Linked DNA regions of Homo sapiens: region 1 is linked to region 2. The links are contacts of gene promoters, found by promoter capture Hi-C in blood cells and fetal thymus (Javierre and others, 2016). All regions are on one chromosome and are shown on one strand. The core of a region is centred on a gene start or on the middle of the fragment in contact, and the rest is flanking DNA. Distances in the headings are between cores, read along the strand shown. Region 1 overlaps LOC107983981 (a long non-coding RNA gene). Region 2 holds the start of CYP19A1 (cytochrome P450 family 19 subfamily A member 1).

Region 1 (4,259 bases), core at 1,623-4,122, 1.7 Mb before region 2:
TCTTTATAGTCCCCTAAGACAACCTCTGTCCTGGTTTCCATGACAATACCTTCTTACCAACTCTCACTTCCAAAAATGCTTCACCAAACACCACAGCCTACTCTTGCCTGCTCTTCATACTCTTCATTAACAGAGTCATAATGCAGATATGCTTTCAAATCCTTCATTTGTTCAACATTGTACTTGTAAGAGGAATTCATGTTGTTGCACTTACATGTAGTTTATTCATTTTCATGGCTGTATAGTATTTCATTATATGAGTATACCATAATTTATACATCCATTCTAGATAAGACATTTGGGTTGTGTCAACCATTAAAATAATGTTTTTATGAACATTCTCGTATATGTCTCCTGGTACATATGAGTTCCCATTTATGCGGGGTATAAATCTAAGACTGTAATTGCTAAGTCAAAGAATACATGTATCTTTGTCTGTCCTTAGTAGATAATACCTTACTGTTTTCCAAAGTAGTTGTACCAGTTTACACATCAATGAATGTGAGTTCACCTAGTTCTACATCTTCAACACTAGGCATTTGTCAGTCCCATTAAGCATAGCAATTCATGAAGATGGCAAATAGTATCTTCTTATGGTTTTAATTTTAATTATTAAAGAAGTTAGGCAAATTTTCATGTATGTTTAGGCCATTTGAATTCTATATTTTGGGGAGTACCTATTCAAATCTCTTGCTTATAGGTTATTTCTCTTAATTTTTCCTTTTTATTTTTCACATTTTGAATACAAAGACTTTGTAAGTAGATTTCAAATATGTAATATTTCTTGCAAATACTTTCCTTCTTTCTGTTTTGCCTTTTCACTTTCTTTTGATAAAAAGAAATTCTTAATGTTAATGTAGTCATATTTGCCCTTTTTTTATAGTTAGTGTTTTTTCCACGTTGGACCACAAAGATATTCTCCTAAGTTATCTTCTAGGCTGTTACTGTCTTGCCTCTCACATTTACATCTACCTGGAATTGATTTTTTTTATGGAGTGATGAAGGGGTCAAGTTTCTTGTTTTCCATGTTTTTACTCATTTTTCCTAGCATAATTTATTGATAAGCCTGAGCTTTCCCAACCATTTTGGTGTGCCACCTTTGTCATAAATTTAATGTTCATCTATCTGTGGTCAATTTCTGAACTTTCTATTATAGCCCACACTTTTATTTGCTTATATCTTATCATCTTCTGACTTGCCCTTTTTCAAGAATGCCTTAATTATTCTTGACCCTCTGAATTTTCATTTAAATTTTAGAATCAGGTTGTTTCCACCAAAAAAAAAAAATGAGCTTTTTATTGGGATGAGGATGTTTATTGGGATTGAACTGAAAAGGTAAGATTGAACGGCATTAACATCTTTCTTATATTAAATCTTCAAATCTATATACATTTTTTCTTCCAGTTATTTATATATTATTCTTAGTTTTATGGTATGCTTTGTGGTTTTCTGCATAGATGTCTTACACATCTGCATTAACCCGTTTTCATGCTGCTGATAAAGACATATCTGAGACTGGGAAGGAAAAGAGGTTTAATTGGACTTACAGTTCACGTGGCTGGGGAGCCCTCAGAGTCATGGCGGGAGGTGAAAGTTACTTCTTACATGGCAGCAGCAAGAGAAAATGAGGAAGAAGCAAAAGCGGAAACCCCTGATAAGCCCATCAGGTCTCTTGAGACTTATTCACTATCATGAGAATAGCATGGGAAAGACTGGTTCCCATGATTCAATTACCTCCTCCTGGGTCCCTCCCACAATACATAAGAATTCTGGGTGATAAAATTCAAATTGAGGTTTGGGGGTGGATACAGCCAAACCATATCAACATCATGTTTTAGATTTGTTTCTAGATAATTTATATTTTTACGCTATTGTAAATCGTATTTTTATTCATTTCATAGCTGTTTATTACAGGTATATAAGTTCACAGTTTATATTTCAATATTGACCAGTAATACTATAAGTCATGCATTAACTAAAGTCATGTATTACTAATGTTATCTGTACATTCTTTTGAATTTTTTCATAAAATCATATCATTTTTTGTAATCCTTTTATTTCTCCCTTCCAATCTATATACCTTTTTTCTTTTGGTTTTTCTGCCTCTTTGCACTGGATAGCATTTCCAGTATAATGTTGAAGAGAAGTGGTGATACTGAGGATCTTTCTGTTATTTCTAATCTCCAAAGAAGAGCATTTAACCATTAAGTATAAAATTATAGTAGACTTTTTATAGATATCTTTTACCATTAGGAAAATCTTCCTGTATTCCCAGTTTACTAAAAAATTCTTATTATGAACCAATGTTAAATTTTATTCAATGCAATTTCTGAACTTATTGAAATGGTCGATTTTTTCTCGTTTACTCTAAGTTAATTTCACTGATTTCAAAGGCTAAAGCAATCACATTTGATTTGTAACATTTTTATTAGGTTTTTTTAATACCTCTATGCCTATAAGTGAGATAGGCTTTATACTTGATATAAAATGTGTCTGGAATATTCTTTTGTGTAACATGATAGTTATTTTGGTCCTAAATGTCTGATATAATTTCTTATCTGATCTGATCTAGAGTTTTGTTTGTAGGAAAAGCTTTAATTTCAGATTCAATTTTCTTAACAGTTAAAAGACTATTCAGATTTTCTCTTTCTTCAGATGTCTTTTAATAAAATTGTACTTCTTTAAGAATGTGTTCATTTCCCCTAAATTTTGTAAAGTTTTGCTATAAAGTTATTCATAATAGTTTCTTATCATTTCAATATCTAGGACCTGAGATAATCACTTTTTTATTCTTGACATTGATTCCTCTCTGTTTCTCTCTCTTTCTCTCTCTTTCTGTGTGTGTGTGTGTGTGCATGTGTGTGTGAGTTTGTGTGTCTCCCTCTCTTGGCCTCACCAGAAACTTCTCAGTTTTAATAGCTTCTTCTAAAACCAACTTTTGCCTATATTGATGTATTGTACATTTATTTTTTGTTTTCAACTTCATTATTTTCTACTCTAACATTCATTATGACATTTCTTCTGCTTTCTTTGGTTTGATTTGCTGTTATTTCCCAACTTCTTAAGACGGATGCCTAGCTCATTAATTTCAACCTCCCATTTTTCCTAACTTATGTACTTAAAGCTATAAATTTCCCTATAAGCAAAGCTTTTTACTATATTTCACAAGTTTTGATATGTAACATTTCCAAAATCATTCAGTTGAAAGTATTTTAAAATTTCCATCATGATTTCTTCATTGAGCCATGGGTTATTGTTTAGAAGTATATGTCTTCATTTTCCAAAGGTTTGTGAATTTTATAGTTTCATTTTTGTTATTGATTTCTGGCTATGATTTTTTTTATTTCAATGAGTGAGCTGATTTCAGTCCAGAACAAGATTTTGTACTTCCAGGTGCACTATCCAAATGGTTCATGTGTGGAGCCAAGTCACAGCTAAGATTCAACATCCTGAGTCACATTTCAAAGCTGGGTATATAGCCAGCACATCTCACTAGCTCAGAGTTACTTTAATAAATGGCAACCATCTTTACATGTAAGATTCTGTTGTTCAGACCAGAAACTATTTCTCCCGCTCTAACTCTACTTACAAATGATTTCCTGGAGCTAAGCCAAAAACCCCAACAGGAAAGTGCTAAAATGGTGTACTAGTACAGATCCTTAGTACCGGGCACTACTCCATAAGAAGCTACCATATATCCTACCTATGTCGAAGCTACCCCCTCAAGTTATGTAGGCTCTCTGTGTGACCACACACAGCAGCCCTGCCCTCTTCCCACACTAAGCCTCAGCCAGACAGATCCATTTTCCTTAGCTAAAATGCCAGCTGAAGTAGGTCAGAAACCATGTATATTCAACCTTGTGTCTCCTGTGACATTTAGCTCAATTCCTAGCACCTGTGTTCAATAAATGTCTGTTGATGGATAAAGTAAAGGATGAATATCTGGACAGAGAGTCAGATAACAGAAGAAATTGAGCAAGTTTATTTTCTCCTACAAAGGACTGAGATCCTTTTTAAAATAGAGGTGGAATAAACATAAACTTAAATCAAGTTTCATATAACATAGAAAGCCAGCATCTATGAAAAGGAAAAATAACAAGACAGTCATCCTCTGAAATAATGGAACTTAAACCTATGAAGGAGAACATACAAGGTGAAACTATTAAAAACTAAATGTTGGTTGAAAAGGCAGTTGGATTCAAGAAAATTTAAAATGATGACAGGGTTTTTTTCTCCCTCCCAGATGCAGATAAAAGGTA
Region 2 (3,961 bases), core at 182-2,681:
ATGTGAGATGTTCCTGCTCCTGCTTTGCCTTCCTCCATGAGTAAAAGCTCCCTGAGGCCTCCCCAGATGCAGGTGCTGCCATGCTTCCTGTTCAGCCTGTGGAACCATGAGCCAATTAAACTTCTTTTCTTGTAAGTTACCCAGTCTCGGGCTTTTCTTTATAGCAAGGCAAGAATGGACTAATACACATACCAATTCTTGCAGGTAGGATTTTTTGGCACAGGAGAGAAAGCTGAGTAGTATCAGACTTCTTGCCCCCTACTCTCCAGGGTGAGCCAGGGTAGAGCCTCTGAGAATGCACAAGGAAACTGAAGTGACATCTCAATCAGAAATTCTGAGTCAAAGTTTAGATTCCTGAGTTTTAATAGGAACATTGACCAACTTCAGTATTCTTAGAAGAGCATACAGGATAAGAAGAAATTAGGAAAGCATGAAGGTCCAAGTGTTTCATAAAGTACCCCCACTGTGGGGATATGATGACTGGGAGGGGATGGCAGTGATGTAAAAAGCTTTGTCCATTTCCTCCCAACTCAAACGTTCTGTGACCTACTTGAAGAACTGTCATGTATCCTTATCTCTTTTCATCCAGGTATCAGGTTTAGGGCCAATGGGGAGGAGCCACTGAGAGGGAGGGTTGACACTCAGCATCATTCAGATCTTCATTTAATTCAGTAAACACTTAACTGAGCACTTCCTGTGCCTGGTATGATAATGGGCATTGGAGATACGGAAGTAAAAAAGACAGGCAGATTACCCTGTGAGCAGCTGGAACACCGTGGAGCCTTCTGGGCTTCTCTTTATCCTAACATTCATTGCAGTTACTGTTGACTGATCATCTCTCAGCAATACCCACCATTAACCATGGAATAGAAGCCTCCTGAGGCTAGGGGCCATGTCACCCCCAACACATAGCACAGTTCCTGATTTGGAATTCACTATTACCCGTTGAATAAATGAGTGAATGAACGAATGAATAAATGAAAAGCTGTATAGTGAAGGCACTTCTATGTAGAACAATGTGGTGTGTGGTGGGGGGTGTGATCTTATGATTACATGTATATAGATTTTTGTCCATGGTTCTTGTCCATAACTCCCATGACACTTGCTGAGGTCTTTTGCTATAATGTAGAGGTGCTTTAGGCCTCAGGAAACAGAATATTTCTCTGGCCTTCTTTGCCCTCCTTTCATCCACCCAAGGCGGGACTCTATAATCTGATTGTGGGTCATAAGACCCTCATTCCAGAGGAGGTCATGCCCCATACCCTGGAGGAAGGAATGCTGCACAAAGAGAGGAAGAAGAATCTGGACAGACAGACCTTGCTGAGATTAGATCATACCCTTTTTGTCCAATCACATTTTGTTCAATCACATGCTTCAGTCATGGACAACAAATGAAATCTCCATAAAAGGCCCAAAGGACAGGGTTCAGGGAGTTTCTGGAGGGCTGAACACGTGGAGGCAAACAGGAAGGTGAAGAAGAACTTATCCTATCAGGACGGAAGGTCCTGTGCTCGGGATCTTCCAGACGTCGCGTATGTATCTCTTAATCTGACTGAGCCCTCAACCTGTGGGATCAGACACTCTTTCCAGGTAGATAGTGTTGGAACTGAGTTGGAGGACACCCAGCTGGTGCCCGCTGCTTGGTGTGTGGGGGAAAATCCCCTACATTTGGTCGCAGAAGTCTTCTGTGTTGATGACTGTTGTCGTGGTGTGAGAGCAGAGGGAAAACACTGCTTGAGTGTTTTTCTGAAATAGGAGGGCCTAAGAACTATACTGTTCTATGCCACAGAACTGGCCCCCTACTTTCCTTGAAAGGCTGGCTATCCAATGGTGAGGAGAGGAAGTGGTAGCCTGAACCAGCCTCCCCATTTCCCCACCTCCCACCCCAGTTCAGAGCCCAGATCCAGTAGACAGAGCAGAGATGAGGCCTGCTTGGAGCCAGGCAGGCTCTATTAGACAACTTCAGGCCAAGAAGCTGCCCCTCTTGGGATGCAGGACTCAAAAGGCTTGTAGCATGGCCACCCCGTGGGCTGGGTTGGTGGAAAGCCTGGGATATTGCTCTGGGGCAAGAGGGGCAGAAGGAAGCGCAAATGAAAAGCCAGACTCCTTTCCTACCAGACTCCACTGTCAGATCCCTCTCCAACTCTTCCTGTGTGGGATGATGGCATTTTTCACAGAAGAAGGGGGACATGTTGATATGGCCTACAAGGTAGACATCTTCACTCATCTCTCACCCTAAAGTGGCTGTGCCCAAGCAGCTGCCATGCTCTGCCCTCTTTCCTCTTCTCCTCTATCTTCTCTCTCCAACCCTCTTTCCACCGCAGTGCCACACAGTGACCTATCTCCATCACTGGCCTATTTCAGTGTTGCCCACTTTAAGGCCTAACTCCGAGTACCCTTCCTCATCTAGCCTTGACTTCCTAGGCCAGTCCCAAGCACTGTGAGCTCTACAAGCTGCAGGGGCTCTGTGGTTATGCACCTGGGCTTTGGAATCAGACCTGACCTTGAAACTGTTTTTTAACTGCATGACTTTAGATATGCTACTCAAGTTCTTTAAAGAGACTGTAATTGTATCTATTTCATAGGGTTGTGAAGCTTTAATAAGAAAATACTTGTAAAGCACTTGTATAATAAATGTTCAACACGGGTTGGTATTGTTGGATATGGGCCATATGAACTGGCTGAGACTTACACTGTGTGTGCCTTGTGCTGTTAGTTGACACTTTAGTTCTTCTGTGCCTTGTGCTGTTAATCGACATCTTAGTTCTTCCACATCCTATTTCTTCAGTTGGGTTACAATATTCTTAAGGCAGGGACCTATCTTAACTGTCCTCTCACAGCAGGGACTTGTGCCAAGTAGGAATATTTGATTAATGGATTCATTAGCTAATCACACTTTGTAGATGCTTTTTGAGGAACAGAACTTTTGAATGCACGATAAACTTGGGTTCTCGTCTGAATACCATGGCTTTGAGGTTGGTTATATGGAGCCTTTCAGTGTGAATCCCTAAGCCTCTTGAGATTTCTTGAGAGGCAGATATGCCTGCATAGCCTGCCCTGCCTGATACTTCACAGAATGGGCTGCTACTTTTTACTTATTATTAAAAAAAAAAAAAAGCTATCAATCTGGCCTGTTTTGTTGACACAGGAGGCTCAGGATATAATGCGGACACAGGGAGATATCTCAATTCCCTTTTTTTGGAGACCAAAGCAGCCAAGAACATTGTGTGCTATCTTTACAATGAGAAGTAGTTTTTCCATTAAAAGGCAGATGCTTCATTTCCAAAAGTTAAATAGAATGGTCCTTAAAAATGATTCCAGCTGGTTAACTTTAGGGCTCTGGAGAATAAAATCAAATTCAAGAATATACCCCAACTTTAGTTCCACAGCATTTCTTCCTGATTGTGAAGTAAATAATTTTCCTGGCCTGGCACTTGGGTATTCTTGTCTTCAGTGATGAGATTGACAGCTACACTGTGACTTTTGATGGTTTTACTGCCCCACCACCCTTCCACCACACTGGTGATTAGGGAGAGAGCCACCCTAAAAGTTGTCACCACATGCATCTTCCACTCAGCCTCTTATGGTTTTAACTCCCCATTCCTACTGTTAAACCCCAAGAAACTTCACACCATCCAACCAAAGTCAGCAATTCTCCCTTTTTTCTTTCTTTTATTCTTTCATGTATTCATTTACTCAGCAAATGGTAATTGGGTGCCTACTATCTGCCAGGAACTGTGCCAGGAGCCAGGAATAGCATGGAGAGCAAAGCCAGGCATCATTCCTGAAGCCTGGAGTGGGGAGACAGATTTACCAAACAATATTAGACATGAGGGTGCAATTCTAAATGCGGCCACGAGACAAATGCTCTGGAAGAAAGGAATGCAGTTCCTTGAGATCATATCACTGAAGAGCCTGTCCTAGAGTTGGATGTGTGGTTCAGGGAAGGCTTCCCTGAGAA

Evidence for each region. The method cuts DNA at HindIII sites, captures the fragments that hold promoters and counts their contacts. A CHiCAGO score of 5 or more calls a contact.
Region 1: a fragment that was not itself captured here is called in contact with the fragment with the promoter of CYP19A1 in region 2 in 1 of 17 cell types (total CD4 T cells); the score reaches 5.6 in total CD4 T cells.

What each region holds. Positions count from the first base shown.
Region 1 is chr15:53,020,380-53,024,638 of GRCh38, reverse strand. The region is part of intron 4 of LOC107983981 (a long non-coding RNA gene); the gene reads right to left. Among named protein-coding and RNA genes, the nearest start is that of LINC02490, 94 kb to the left of the region's middle. The HindIII fragment of the contact is 556 bases long and covers 2,595-3,150 here.
Region 2 is chr15:51,336,066-51,340,026 of GRCh38, reverse strand. It overlaps CYP19A1 (cytochrome P450 family 19 subfamily A member 1), which reads left to right and starts at 1,431. Exons shown (of 10, transcript NM_000103.4): 1 at 1,431-1,532. RefSeq lists cis regulatory regions at 1,125-1,154, 1,219-1,236, an enhancer at 1,188-1,267 and promoters at 1,188-1,506, 929-1,506. The HindIII fragment of the contact is 2,086 bases long and covers 512-2,597 here.